Linked DNA regions of Homo sapiens: region 2 is linked to region 1. The links are contacts of gene promoters, found by promoter capture Hi-C in blood cells and fetal thymus (Javierre and others, 2016). All regions are on one chromosome and are shown on one strand. Each heading gives the region's core, a stretch centred on a gene start or on the middle of the fragment in contact. The rest is flanking DNA. Distances are from core to core; before and after follow the strand shown. Region 1 holds the start of THAP1 (THAP domain containing 1). Region 2 holds the start of UBE2V2 (ubiquitin conjugating enzyme E2 V2).

Region 1 (7,526 bases), core at 1,752-4,251:
CAGCCTCCCAAAGTGCTGGGATTACAGGCGTGAGCCACTGCACCAGGCCATTAAGCCACATCTTAAGGGTGGACAGGTCAGGGATGGGCATTTCAAGCCAAGGAAAACAGCCTATTTAAAGAAACCACAAAAGAGCCTACCCTCTAAGACATAAAGCCGGAACAAAGGTAAAGACAAGTGGAGGGAGATGATGGTGGAAGAGTAGAAGTACTTGGTCTTAAAGAGCTTTATAATTCACCATAAGAAGTTTGGATTTTATTCAGTACAGCAGGTAGCCTTGGAAGGATATGAGCAAGGGCGTGGCAGGCATGCACCACCCTTCTATAGAAGATAGAATGGAGAGAGGTAAAACTGGAGACTAGGATAGTTAAGGGGTTGCTGCAAGGTTAAGACCATGAGAGCTTGGTCAAGAACAGTGAGGAGGCCAGGTGCCGTGGCTCACGCCTGTAGTCCCAGGACTTTGGGAGGCCCTGGCTGACAGATAGCTTAAACCCAGGAGTTTGAGACCAGCCTGGGCAACACAGTGAGACCTCATCTCTGTTAAATATAATAATAAAAATAATTAAAGAACAGTGAGGGTTGGGCGCAGTGGCTCACGCCTGTAATCCCAACACTTTGGGAGGCCGAGGCAGGCGTATCACCTGAGGTCAGGAGTTCGAGTCCAGCCTGGCCAACATGGTGAAACCCCATCTCTACAAAAATACAAAAATTAGCCAGGCATGGTGGCGGGTGCCTGTAATCCCAGCTACTTAGGAGGCTGAGGCGGGATAATCGCTTGAACCCAGGAGGCGGAGGTTGCAGTGAACTGAGATTGTGCCACTGCACTCCAGACTGAGCGACAGAGTGAGACTCCCTCTCAAAAAAAAAAACAAAAAAAAAAACAACAACAACAGTGAGGAGACATGAAGAGGGATGGATTTAAGGGGCATTTATTTATTTAGTCTACAAAATTAACCTGGTCATCAACGGGTTTTATGGGTGACAAAAAAAATCCAAGATGACTCCAAGGTTTCTGGTTTAGACAACTGTTGAACAGATAATTCACAGATGATAATTCACAGATGATAATCCCAAAGGCAGAACGGATATACAAAGGAAATAAAAGATGAGAGAATTATGGTATTTGGTTCAGTTTAAGGAGCAGGGTGTTTAGGAGTTAGAGGAGGGCAGAAGATGGAACCCTGGGGAAACAGCAACATTTAAAAGGGCAGGAAAGGTAGAGAATAAGGGCCAAGGGATTACTCAACAGTCCGCTCTCCAGGTCTGCCTGGCTCAGATCTATATAAAGAAAAGGAGCAGGGAATGAAGTAAAACTGTTACAGGAAAGGGGTCCCAATCCAGACCCCAAGACAGGGTTCTTGGATCTCACGCAAGACAGAATTCAGGGCAAGTCCACAGTACAAAGCAAAAGCAAGTTTATTAAGAACGTAAAGTGGTGAAAGTACAGCTACTCCACAGACAGAGTAGGGCATTCCCGAAAGTAAGAGGAGGAACGCGTCCACCCTAAGTACAACACTTAGTTTATATATAGGATAAAAAAAGATCATGGGGAGATGTGCTTTGCTACAAGGGTTTGTGATAAAGGATTAATTACTATATTATGTAAGAATCGATATTATCTTTATTTATGAGACAGAGTCTTACTCTGTCGCCCAGGCTGGAGTGCAGTGGTGCAAGCACGGCTCACTGCAACCCCCGCCTCCCGGATTCAAGCGATTATCCTGCCTCAGCCTCCAGAGTAGCTGAAATTCGAGGGCATGTGCCACCACACCCGGTTAATTTTTGTATTTTTAGTAGAGACGTTTTCACCATGTTGACCAGGCTAGTCTTGAACTCCTGACCTCAAGTGATCCGCCCGCCTCGGCCTTCCAAAGTGCTGGGATTACAGGCGTGAGGCACTGTGCCCAGCCCAATATTATTATCTTTAAAGCAAAATTAGGAATGCTTCTGTTCTCAAAATATCGGGATATCTGGACACTTGGTAGTCTGGGTCTGTGTAGTAAACATTATCAATCTGTTGCCTTAATGGTATACACATCTAGAGGCTAGGAATACCTAACTTCCCGGGAATGCAGCCCAGCAAGTCCCAGCCTCATTTTCCTAGCCCTCACTCAACACAGAGTCGCTCTAGTTCGAACCCCTCTAACATATTCTCTCTCAGGTGTGAAAATTGCTGCAGCAGTTCGCTATTTGCAACACAGCACATGGAAATCACAGCAATGGAGAGCCTTCAGAAAAGCTTCTGGGGAGGGACAGCCTGGTGGCTCAACTCCTGTAATCCCAACCCATGGGGAGGTCGAGATGGGAGGATCCCTTGAGCTCGAGTTCCAGACTGACCTGGGCAACGTGGGGAGACAACGCCTCTATTTATTTAAAAAATTACATATATATATATATATATACATACACACACACATATATACATACACACATATATACATACATATACATACATATATATAAAACGCTTCTGCGTTGGCAATTGAGATGATTTGGCGAGTGTGTCTTTTTTCATTGCTAAAAATCTGTCACGTTGGCTCTCACAGAAACTTGTGATACCTGAAGACACAGGTAATGGGATAAAGATTAGCACTCTGGGAAAAGGTTCCACAATTTTATTAATCATACACCATCTGTGTCCGCCCTTTTAAAGAAATGGGCGCAATCAGCCAACGACCTCGGCTTTACACCTGTTCTCCAAGAGGCCCTAGTTGTTCCCTACTGTAAGCTGCCCCAGAAAAGGTCCGCATCAATTAACCCACGGGAACAGCCCGGGGCTGGAGGATGCCCCAGGAATCCGGCCTCCCGCCGCGCCTCCTCCCCCCACAAGCAGTTCCTTCCTGCCTGCCGGAAGCTCAGGGCTCCGCCCACTTCGGCAACTCTGAAGCCACCGCCGGAAACACCTGGCCTCAGCCAATAGTTAGCTTCCCAGGAAACGTTACCTCTGACCTCGGGGCTAATCAGAGACAGTGGGACGCACCCCTCGCGAGAGGTGAGGTTGAAGCTGCCTCCGCCATCTTGGAGATGGGAGACGGGCGATGGCTGTGGTCCTTCTGCTAATGCAAACAACAAAACGGGCACACTAGTCACCCCCGAGGGAGGCCACCATCACTGTAACTGTTGGCCAAAGCTACAAAAGAAGCGAGGGAATCCAACCGAGCGCAGCGACACTGAGAACAGCTTCCCCTGCCTTCTGCGGCGGCAGAAGTGAAGTGCCTGAGGACCGGAAGGATGGTGCAGTCCTGCTCCGCCTACGGCTGCAAGAACCGCTACGACAAGGACAAGCCCGTTTCTTTCCACAAGTGAGGACCCTGCGCGCCTCGCGGGGCCGGTCTCAGCCGGGGTGGGGGCGCGCGGCCGGCGGGGCCGGGGGCGGAGCCAGGCGCGTGTCCGCGCGAGGGGCGGGTGGGGTCTGGGGCCGGCCGTGTCGGGCGTTTCCCACCGCGTCCCGCTGGGAACCGCCGCCCGATCGCGCGTTCTCGGCGCGCGTCGCCGCGGCAGCCGTTTCTCGCGCTCCTGGAACAGGCCCTGGTTGCAGGCTTCGCTCACGGCCTGGGTTGACGCGTTCGGAGCCCACGGGCGATGCCTAGGGTGGCGCGGGTTTTGCCACCACCAGGGTCACAGAGCAGCCAGGTGTTTTAATATGGTCTTAGGGGTAAATTTAAAATAGAAACAAAGGCCTTTAAACGAAGAAATCACTACTTTTCGCCCTTGCCGTGGATGGGAGGCCAGCATCGTAGCAATTAAGGGTTTTTTGGCTGGGAAATCAGGGAGAATTTTTGCCCCCAATCTCTAGGAACTAAGCTTTAAGGACCCTGTATTTTGGAGAAAGCTTCAGGTACTGCCGAGATAAATCGTTATCTTTTCAGCACACAATAATGATAATATGGACAGTTACAACATGGATCATAATAAAATGACTCACACGGATCTTTATTTATTATGGCATTACCTGTGCATAGAGAAAGCTCTTTCGAAAGAAACTGCCCCACAGCTTTCAGAGCTGTCTTATCCAGTAGGTAGCACAGTTAAGTGATAGGATCAAAAATATTCTCTTGAAAATAGGAAAAAAGTGCAGAGTTGTAATTACTTATGATAAACGCTTGTAAAATGTGACATAACATTTTCATTCAGCTGAATTTGTTTACAAATTTTAATTACATTTATGTTAAGTTTTCTTTGCAAGAATTCCTGACAGCTATACGCAGATGATAGGTAAGAAATCAGATCCAGGGGTAAACTATACAGATTAGCCATAGGTAATTAGCTAATTATCTTTTATAATTAGGTAAATAATTACAAAAGCAAAATGTTAAATATCTTTTCAGTTAATTTATTTTTTTGCTGTGGGGCCATCTGTGTTTACTAGGGGAGTGTCCATGCATTTTTTAAATATGTTTGATATCATGTGAGATGGACCCTATAGAAATAAGAGTGTGTAGAACATAGAGAGGTCTCCAGAGTAATAATGTTACCCCTTGGAGAAGGGGATAGAACACTTAGAGGATTCAGTTCAGGATATCCTAATATTATCTCTTGATTTAATTGGAATTTCTGTAAACATGTTCTTTCTAAATGTAGGGAAAGGTCAGGTGATGGTAACAGGATTACATGCCCAGCTCCCCACCCACATTTCTGATGGCTTGGCAGAAGGAATCTAAAATTATGGAAAATGTTTCATTGGCACTGGAAACTAGTTTAAAGAGGGTATTCACACGTCGGAAATAACTGTTTTTGTCGAGGCACGATGGCTCATGCCTGTAATTCCCAGCACTTGGGGAGGCCAAGGTGGGCGGATCACCTGACGTCAGGAGTTCGAGACCAGCCTGGCCAACATGGCAAAATCCCGTCTCTACTAAAAATACAAAATACAGGCGTACGCCTGTAATCTTAGCTACTTGGGAGGCTGAGGTAGGGGAATCACTTGAACCTGGGATATGGAGGTTGCAGTGAGCTGAGATCTTGCCCTGCACTCCAGCTTGGGTAACAGAGTGAGACTCCATCTCAAAAAAAAAAAAAAAAAAAAAAAAAGATACAACTGTTTCTGCTAGATGTTAAGCAGATATGGATTGAATCAAAAGAAGGGCTAACCTGCATCTTATCCCTTATCTAAAATAGCAGGTTTAGGGAGAGTAGATGGGAAAGATCTTAAGAGAATCTCACAAACAGCTGTAAATTTGTTGTCCTTGAGCCAGGAGGCCCTAGGTACTGAATTTTACCAGCAAATGCTACCATAGTTTATACTTACAGAGCCAGGAGGCCATAGGTACTGAATTTTACCAGCAAATGCTACCCTAGTTTATACTTATAGAGGCCGTTCCAGTTGAGATTTTCTTTCTTTTTTTTTTTTTTTTTTTTTTGAGATGGAGTCTTGCTCTGTCACCAGGCTAGAGTGCAGTGGCACGATCTCAGCTCAGTGCAACCTCTGCCTCCCGAGTTCAAGTGATTCTCCTGCCTCAGCCTCCCAAGTAGCTGGGACTACAGGTGTGCACCACCACGCCCAGCTAATTTTTGTATTTTTAGTAGAGACAGGGTTTCACCATGTTGGCCAGGATGGTCTCCATACTTCGACCTCCTGATCCGCCCTCCTCAGCCTCCCAAAGTGCTGGGATTACAGGCCTGATTACAGGCCATGCCCAGCCCCAGCTGAGATTTTCTAGGAGTACCACTTCTCCCACCCTCTACATAGTGGCAGCGGAGAGTGCTATGTCGTACAAAGAAAAGGGACTGTCATAAAGATCTCTTACTAGCAGAGTCAGGCTCTAGCATATCGTACATGGAAGAGAGACTGTGAAACATAAATTTGAAATTCCCTTCCCTTTTTCTTTCTAATCCCCCCAGTTTACCAAATTCTTAACTTGGAAGAGTAAAATTACCACAATAAATGTAAACTCTCACTATCCCCGTTTACCTGGGCCTAATGGACATCCCAGTTGATTAGAAAATAAATTCTTTCGTTATTATCTGCCTTTAATTCAAATTTAGCCTATTCATATTTGTCAGACTGATGCTAAGAGAACTAGAAGCCCCTTTTTCCCAGTACGCAGATACAAATGTGCAATCTTTGTCTCTCTGTGCAGCACACAGAAAATTACTGGTAAAAAATATGAATACAGGTTATTTTTTTCTTTTTGAGACGGTATGGCTCTGTCACCCAGGCTGGAGTGCAGTGGAATGATCTCAGCTCACCGCAGCCTTGACCTCCCAGGCTCGAGCAGTCCTTCCACCTCAGTCTCAGCCTCCTGAGTACCTGGGCACATACCACCATGCCCAGCTAATTTTTGTGTCTTTTGTAGAGACAGGGTTTTGCCGTGTTGCCCAGGCTAGTCTCGAACTCTTGGACTTAAGTAGTCCCTCGGACAGTGGCCTCCCAAGTGCTGGGATTACAGGCATGAGCCGTGGGCACATTTACTCTATAGTATGTATTTTACCTGAATCTTTTGGTGAACTCAGTATAAAAAGTTAAACGTTAATGAATGAGGGCCAGGCACAGTGGCTCACGCATGTAATTCGAGCACTTTGGGAGGCCAAGGCGGGCAGATCACAAGGTCAAGAAATCGAATCCATCCTGGCCAACATGGTGAAAGCCCATCTCTACTAAAAGTACAAAACTTAGCTGGGCGTGGTGGCGCACGCCTGAGTCCCAGCTACTTGGGAGGCTGAGGCAGGAGAATCGCTTGAACCTGGGAGGCGGAGACGCAGTGAGCCGAGATTGCACCACTGCACTCCAGCCTAACAACAGAGCAAGACGGCATCTCAAAAAAATTTTTAAAAAATTAATAAATGAGATAAATAGATAACTAGAGCTAATCTTTAATCCAATAGGATAATACAATTGTAACATCTTTAATACCAATGTAAGATATTTCCTAAGCTGGAAAGTTTGGGTGCCTTTATTTATTTAAAAAATCAGGACAGATAATTGAATTATGCCTTCTTCTTAGGTTTCCTCTTACTCGACCCAGTCTTTGTAAAGAATGGGAGGCAGCTGTCAGAAGAAAAAACTTTAAACCCACCAAGTATAGCAGTATTTGTTCAGAGCACTTTACTCCAGACTGCTTTAAGAGAGAGTGCAACAACAAGTTACTGAAAGAGAATGCTGTGCCCACAATATTTCTTTGTACTGAGCCACATGACAAGGTAATATGCATTTTAAAATATTGGGTTGCTTTTTGTTTATCAAACTGATGTGTTCATTGATTAAAATGTGGAAAATTGAGTTAGTGTTAAGAGAATAAATGTGCCTGGAACCTTGTAGTTAACAGTGATACACTTCTGAAAACACAAAATGCAGTTTATTAAAGATAAATATCCTCACACTAAGAAACTTAGTCCAGCTTTGTAACTTAGTTAAAAACCACTCTGTACTGCCAGTTATATATTGATAAGTTTTGGGTTTTCTTTATCAGTGACAGTTTAGTTTCAAAGCATTTTTTTCTCCTCAGTGCTTAATATTTAATTAGATCTGATGATTCATTTTGTCTCTTTCCTGCACCGTCCCTCTACTTCAGGTAGAAAAGTTTATT
Region 2 (7,526 bases), core at 2,729-5,228, 5.2 Mb before region 1:
GTTATTATTAATGCTGGAATCTAATAAAATTTTGAATCATGAGTACTAAACAGTATCAAATTTCTATTCCCGAGAGTAGCTTCTTAACCTCTGTCCTGTGAAATACTCTTGAATTGCATGGGTAACTCTGTCTCTTGGAAAAGGAGAACCTAGCTGGTGAGGGCTACGTTCCCCTTTCATCCATAAGAAGGATCTAAGAGTCTGAAACAAGGATTGTGCTAAGAAGGGAAGTGTGAAAGGGAGTAATTAAGATTCATGTTCTGAGAAATATTCCAAATTCAGAGTTCTTCATAATGGAGAGCGCATCAGACTAAGGGTAAAAGACCTGGATTCTAGTCTTGCCTGTACTAGTAACCACCTATGTATAGCCTTTTACTTGTTTGAGCCTCAGTTTTCTCATCTGCAAAATAAGAAGACCAGATGGGATGGCCAAAAATGTTTCTGCTTAGAAGTCTCCGTCTGGCCAGGCACAGTGGCTCAAACCTGTAATCCTAACCTCAGGCCAGGGCAGGAGGGTCACTTGAGTCCAGGAGTTCAGACTACACTGGATAACATACGGAGACCCTGTCTCTACAAATAATTTAAAAATTAGCCAGGTGTGGCAATGCGTGCCTGTGTTCGCAGCTACTCGGGAGGCTGAGGTAGGAGGATCACCTGACCCCAGCAGGTCGAGGCTGCAGTGAGCCATGATCGCATGCCACTGCATTCCAACCTGGGCAACACAGCAAGACTCCGTCTCAAAAAGTCTCAGTCTAATTAAAAGTTTTTTCCTTCCAAAATTCTCTTCCAGTAGAAGGAAGGGTTAAAGGGGCTAAGGTATATGATGCACACTGAACTAAAGATCAAAACATATTTGTCAGGGTTTTTCTTTTTGGCCTCTTAAACAACTGTTATCGAGATACTTTGGCTTAAATAAAAAACACGTGTATTAGACCAAGCTCAGTGGTTTATGCCTGTAATCCCAGAACTTTGGGAGGCCGGAGCAGATGGATTACCTGAGGTTAGCAGTTTGAGACCAGCCTGGCCAACATGGTGAAACCCCATCTCTACTAGAAAAAATATATATACAATAAATTAGCTGGGCGTGGTGGTGCATGCCTGTAAACCCAGCTACTCAGAATGCTGAGGCAGGAGAATTGCTTAAACCCAGGAGGAAGAGGCTGCAGTCAGCCGAGATCGCACCATTGCACTCCAGCCTGAGCAACAAGGCGAGACTCCGTTTCAAACAAACACGTGCATTACATCGATGTAGCTCATCTAATTTTAAATTTTAAGCTGTATCATGCTGCTTTCACAAATACACAGGTACTATTTACTTCCCATGTTACCAAAAAGCAAACAAAAGTATAGCTAATAGTAAAATTAAAACTAATTAATAGGCTGGGCACTGTGGCTCACACCTGTAATCCCAGCACTTTGGGAGGCCAAGGTGGGCGGATTGCCTGGGGTCAGGAGTTTGAGACCAGTCTGGACAACATGATGAAAACCTGTCCCTACTAAAAAAAAAAAAAAAAATACAAAAAAAATATATATATACAAAAAAATTTGCTGGGCGTGGTGGCATGCACCTGTAATCCCAGCTACTCAAGAGGCTGAGGCAGAGGAATTGCTTGAACCAGGGAGGTGGAAGTTGCAGTGAGCCGAGATCATGCCCTTGCACTCCAGCCTGGGCAAAGAAGCGAGAGACTCAGTCTCAAAAAAAAAAAAAAACAAACAAACCCAGGCGCAGTGGCTCACACCTGTAATCCCAGCAATTTGGGAGGCCGGATCACGAGGTCAAGAGATCAAGACCATCCTGGCCAATATGGTGAAACCCCGTCTCTACTAAATATACAAAAAATTAGCTGGGCATGGTGGCACGCGCCTGTTGTCCCAGCTACTCAGGAGACTGAGGCAGGAGAATCGCTTGAGCCCGGGAGGCGGAGGTTGCAGTGAGCCGAGATCGCGCCACTGCACTCCAGCCTGGGTGACAGAGCAAGACTGCGTCTCAAAAAAAAAAAAAAAAAAAACTAGTAGATGGGAACGGTGGCTCACCCCTGTAATCCAGCACTTTGGGAGGCTGAGGCGGGTGGATCACCTGAGGTGAGGAGGGTGCAGTGAGCCAAGATCATGCCACTGCACTCCAGCCTGGGCAATGCAGCGAGACTCCATCTCAAAAAAAAAAAAAAAATACAGACTCCCTATGTACAATATGCTAATAATTTATCAGTAATCTTTATAATTTATATTCAACTTCCAAAACAACTAAAAGTGATTAACAAAAAGTATTTGCCATTAATATCATCTAACCTTTGGTCTTTTCAAAATATTAACATACACTCATGTATAGTGTTATGAAAAAATTGTGTTTAATAATGCAACCCACAAAAGGAAAATGAAAAGTATTAAATTAAAATGCATTATTTTATTACTAAATTTTCAAAAATCTATAAGAGGTCCTAAGCACAACTGTTATAAAGATATGGCCCCGTTAACGAGCACAGATTAGATTTCAGCAAGCACAGTAAAGTCATAACACTAAAATTCCACTTTTAAAACAATCCTTGCCTTACTAGCTAGCTGACCCAAGTATGTATACTACCCCAACACTAGAACTGCTAAAGATCTTAAAACCTATGACACCTATATGTAATAAAGATGTAAAAGACACCACTTAATTAAAATGTATGCAGAATGTATCCTGAGGTATTACTCTAAAGCAACAATTACAACATATATTCAAAGCCTTCCATTTCAGTACATATAGATTTGAAAATTCATTTTATTATGCAATGATGGCATAAACTATTAAATCACACTGCTCTATACTCTTGTTTCAACGAAGACTAGGAAAAGGCAGATCAGGCCGAGCGCGGTGGCTCACACCTGTAATTCCAGCACTCTGGGAGGCCGAAGTGGGCGGATCACCTGAGGTCAGGAGTTCGAGACCAGTCTGGCCAACATGACAAAACCCCGTCTCTACTAAAAATACAAAAATTAGCCGGGCCTGGTGGCACGCGCCTGTAATCCCAGCTACTTGGGAGGCTGAGGCAGGAGAATCACTTGAACCTGGGAGGTGGAGGTTGCAGTGAGCCGAGATCACACCACTGCATTCCAACTGGGCAACAGGGTGAGCCTCTGACTCAAAAAAAAAAAAAAAAAGAAAAGAAAAGAAAAAGGCAGATCACACGGGTTAACATTTTTAAATGTAAACTAAAGCTTAACGTTTTTAACATTTCTGAAATGGTCTAATGTCTAAAACCTCAACGTTAATACTTGTGTGCTCACAGGAAACCAAACATTGTATTCAGTAGGAAAGAGGAGTTGAACAGCTTATCTAAGAAACCACTTGTTCTTCAATTAGCTTTCATCTTGCTCTGGTCTTTTATTTTGTTTGCACTGCAGTTTTCCTCATAAATAATAAAAAGATCACACGTATTCAGTCAGGTAAGAAAGATCCTCTCGCTCTTATTTTAAGGAGCAATCGTCCTCTACTCCCCAACCCATGTCAAGGAGAGTCCAAAGGAATGGGACCCCTACTCTGATCCAGGACACCTCTTGGCCTGACCCATCTTCGGTGCCGGTTGGCCTGACCCATCTTCGGTGCCGGAGGTTGACACCCGCCCACCTTGGGCCTCCTCGCCTCCCTCCCGTAGAGCCTTCAGCCTACAACTCGGACCCGCGCCCGCCGGAACCTACGGGGGCGCCCGCGCGGGAGCCACCCCGCCCCCAGCCCGCCGGCGCGCGGCCGACGCGCGAGCACGACCCGCCAACCCGACGGCCGCCGGGGCCTCGGCGCCGGTCCCACCCGGTCCCAGGCTACGCTCTGCGGAGAGCGCGGCATTCGAGACAGCGCACTCGGGCTTCTCCCGCACGGTCAGCGCTCGGGCGCCAGCAGCAGACGGAGGGGCAGAGCCGGGTCGGAGCGGAAAATCACGCAGCCCGGCCCGGGAACCGACCTGTGGAGACCGCCATCTTCTCCTGCAGCCCGACGCAGCCGCCCGCACGCACGCACGAACCGTCGCGCGTCACTTCCGGGAGCGCGCCGCCCTGCACGCGTCACAGCGGACTCCGCCCCCGGCGGGCGCGGGGCGACCCGAGGGACAGCGCGCACGTGGGCCGAGGGGTCGCGGGGCCTCGCTGCTGTTTCCGCAATTCCCTTGTGAATCCCGCTCTCAAAATGAAACGCTAAAGAATAAGTTCATGAGGGCCGGGCGCGGTGGCTCACGTCTGTAATCCCAGCACTTTGGGAGGCCGAGGCGATCGGATCACCCGAGGTCAGGAGTTCGAAACCAGCCTGGCCAACATGGCGAAACCCCGTCTCTACTAAAAATACAAAAATTAGCCGGACGTGGTGGCGCGCGCCTGTAATCCCAGCTATTTGGGAGGCTGAGGCACGAGAATCGTTTGAACCGGGGAGGCGGAGGGGCAATGAGCCGCGATTGCGCCACTGCACTCCAGCCTGGACAACAGAGCGAGACTCCGCCTCAAAAAAATAAATAAAAATAAGTGGGCATTGACAGATTTGCGTTGATAAACGATTCAAAAGAGTTGGACAATAAATTTGAACAGCTAGGGATGCTGAGGTGGGAGGGTCACGTGAGCCCAAGAGGTGAGGCTGCAGTGAGCAGAAATCGCTGCACTCCAGCCTGGGCAACAGAGGGAGACTCCATTTCAAAAAAAAAAAAGAAAGAAAGAAAAAGGAAAGTAATACAGGCTGGGCGCCGAAGCTCACTTCTGTAATCCTAACACTTTGGGAGGCTGAGGCAGGAGGATGGCTTGAACCCAAGACTTTGAGACCAGCTTGGACAACATAGTGATACCTAGTCTCTACATAAAACTGAAAAAAAAAAAAAAAAAAGATTTTTCACATCCCTTGTAGGTTGTATTCCTAGGTATTTTTATTCTCTTTGTAGCAATTGTGAATGGGAGTTCACTCATGATTTGGCTCTCTGTTTGTCTGTTATTAGTGTATAGGAATGCTTGTGATTTTTGCACATTGATTTTGTATCCTGAGACTTTGCTGAAGTTGCTTGTCAGCTTAAGAAGATTTGGGGCTGAGACTATGGGGTTTTCTAAATATACAATCATGTCATCTGCAAACAGAGACAATTTGACTTCCTCTTTTCCTAATTGAATACCCTTTATTTCTTTCTCTTGCCTGATTGCCCTGGCCAGAACTTCCAATACTATGTTGAATAGGAGTGGTGAGAGAGGGCATCTTTGTCTTGTGCCGGCTTTCAAAGGGAATGCTTTTGGCCGGGCATGGATCCCAGCACTTTGGGAGGCGGAGGCGGGCGGATCACGAGGTCAGAAGATCAAGACCATCTTGGCTAACACAGTGAAACCCTGTCTCTACTAAAAAAAAAAAAATACAAAAAATTAGCCAGGCATGGTGGCAGGCCCCTGTAGTCCCAGCTACTCGGGAGGCTGAGGCAGGAGAATGGCGTGAACCCGGGAGTTGGAGCTTGCAGTGAACCGAGATGGCGACACTGCACTCCACCCCAGCCTAGGGGACAGAGCGAGACTCCATCTCAAAATAAAAAAAAATAAAAAATAAAAAGAATCCTTCATTCCAGTTTTCGCCCATTCAGTATGATATTGGCTGTGGGTTTGTCGTAAATAGCTCTTATTATTTTGAGATACATTCCATCAATGCCTAGTTTATTGAGAGTTTTTAGCATGAAGGGCTGTTGAATTTTGTCGAAGCCTTTTCTGCATCTATTGAGATAATCATGTGGTTTTTGTCATTGGTTCTGTTTATGTGATGGATTACATTTATTGATTTGCATATGTTGAAGCAGCCTTGCATCCCAGGGATGAAGCCGACTTGATCTTGGTGGATAAGCTTTTTTGATGTGCTGCTGGATTCGGTTTGCCAGTATTTTATTGAGTATTTTCGCATCAATGTTCATCAGGGGTATTGAGCCCACGTAGCCAAGGCAATCGTAAGCAAAAGGAACAAAGCTGGAGGCATCACACTACCTACCTGACTTCAAACTATACTGCGAGGCTACAGTAAAAAAAATTGCCTAGTACTGGTACCAAAACAGATATATAGATCAATGGAACAGAACAGAGGCCTCAGAAATAACTCCACATATCTACAACCATCTGATCTTTGACAAACCTGACAAAAACAAGCAATGGGGAAAGGATTCCTTATTTAATAAATGGTGTTGGGAAAACTGGGTAGCCATATGCAGAAAGCTGGAACTGGATCCCTTCCTTACACCTTATACAAAAATTAACTCAAGATGGATTAAAGACTTAAACGTAAGACCTAAAACCATAAAAACCCTAGAAGAAAACCTAGGCAATACCATTCAGGATGTAGGCATGGGCAAAGACTTCATGACTAAAACACCAAAAGCAATGGCAACAAAAGCCAAAATTGACAAATGGAATCTGATTAAACTAAAGAGCTTCTGCACAGCAAAAGAAACTACCATGAGAGTGAACAGGCAACCTATAGAATGGGAGAAAATTTTTGCAATCTATCCATCTGACAAAGGGCCAATATATAGAATCTACAAAGAACTTAAACAGATTTACAAGAAAAAAATAAGTCCATCAAAAAGTGGGCAAAGGATATGAACAGACACTTCTCAAATGAAGACATTTATGCAGCCAACAAACATGAAAAAAAGCTCATCATCACTGGTCATTAGGGAAATGCAAATCAAAACCACAATGAGCTACCATCTCACACCAGGTAGAATGGTGATCATTAAAAAGTCAGGAAACAACAGATGCTGGAGAGGATGTGGAGAAATAGGAATGCTTTTACACTGTTGGTGGGAGTATAAATTAGTTCAACCATTGTGGAAGACAGTGTGGCGATTCCTCAAGGATCTAGAACTAGAAATACCATTTGACCCAGCAATCCCATTACTGGGTATATACCCAAAGCATTATAAATCATTCTACTATAAAGACACATGCACATGTATATTTATTGTGGCACTGTTCACAATAGCAAAGACTTGGAACCAACCCAAATGGCCATCAGTGATAGACTGCATAAAGAAAATGTGGCAAATATACACCATGGAATACTATGCAGCCATAAATTAGGATGAGTTCATGTCCTTTGCAGGAACATGGATGATGCTGGAAACCGTCATTCTCAGCAAACTATCACAAGAACAGAAAACCAAACACCTCATGTTCTCACTTATAAGTGGGAGTTGAACAGTGAGAACACATGGACACAGGGAGGGGAACATCACACACTGGGGCCTGTCAGGGGTTGGGGGCTAGGGGAGGGATAGCATTAGGAGAAATACGTAATGTAGATGACAGGTTGATGGGTGTAGCAAACCACCATGGCACGTGTATACCTCTGTAACAAACCTGCATGTTCTGCCCCTGTTCCCCAGAATTTAAATTAAAAAAAAAAAAAAAGGAGAAAAAGTAGTTAAGAGAAAAAAAAAAAAGCTGGCATTCTGGTTCGTGCCTGTAGCCTCAACTACTCAGGAGGATGAGATGGGAGGATCACTTGAGCCAGGAGGTTAAGGCTTCAGTGAGTTATGATGGCACCACTG

Evidence for each region. Contacts are between HindIII fragments. The CHiCAGO score rates a contact against its expected background, and 5 or more counts as called.
Region 2: a contact is called between the fragment with the promoter of UBE2V2 here and the fragment with the promoter of THAP1 in region 1, in 4 of 17 cell types (fetal thymus, total CD4 T cells, total CD8 T cells and 1 more). The highest score is 28.6, in fetal thymus.

The regions. Positions count from the first base shown.
Region 1 is chr8:42,838,800-42,846,325 of GRCh38, reverse strand. It overlaps THAP1 (THAP domain containing 1), which reads left to right and starts at 3,001. Exons shown (of 3, transcript NM_018105.3): 1 at 3,001-3,302; 2 at 6,945-7,140. The coding sequence starts at 3,232. It overlaps LOC124901940 (a long non-coding RNA gene), which reads right to left and starts at 3,392. Exons shown (of 2, transcript XR_007060901.1): 1 at 2,943-3,392; 2 at 914-2,559. RefSeq lists enhancers at 2,923-3,282, 2,618-3,408 and a silencer at 3,313-3,402. The HindIII fragment of the contact is 1,565 bases long and covers 2,242-3,806 here.
Region 2 is chr8:48,004,883-48,012,408 of GRCh38, reverse strand. It overlaps UBE2V2 (ubiquitin conjugating enzyme E2 V2), which reads right to left and starts at 3,978. Exons shown (of 4, transcript NM_003350.3): 1 at 3,939-3,978. The coding sequence starts at 3,954. RefSeq lists silencers at 3,583-3,782, 4,013-4,272. The HindIII fragment of the contact is 2,629 bases long and covers 3,201-5,829 here.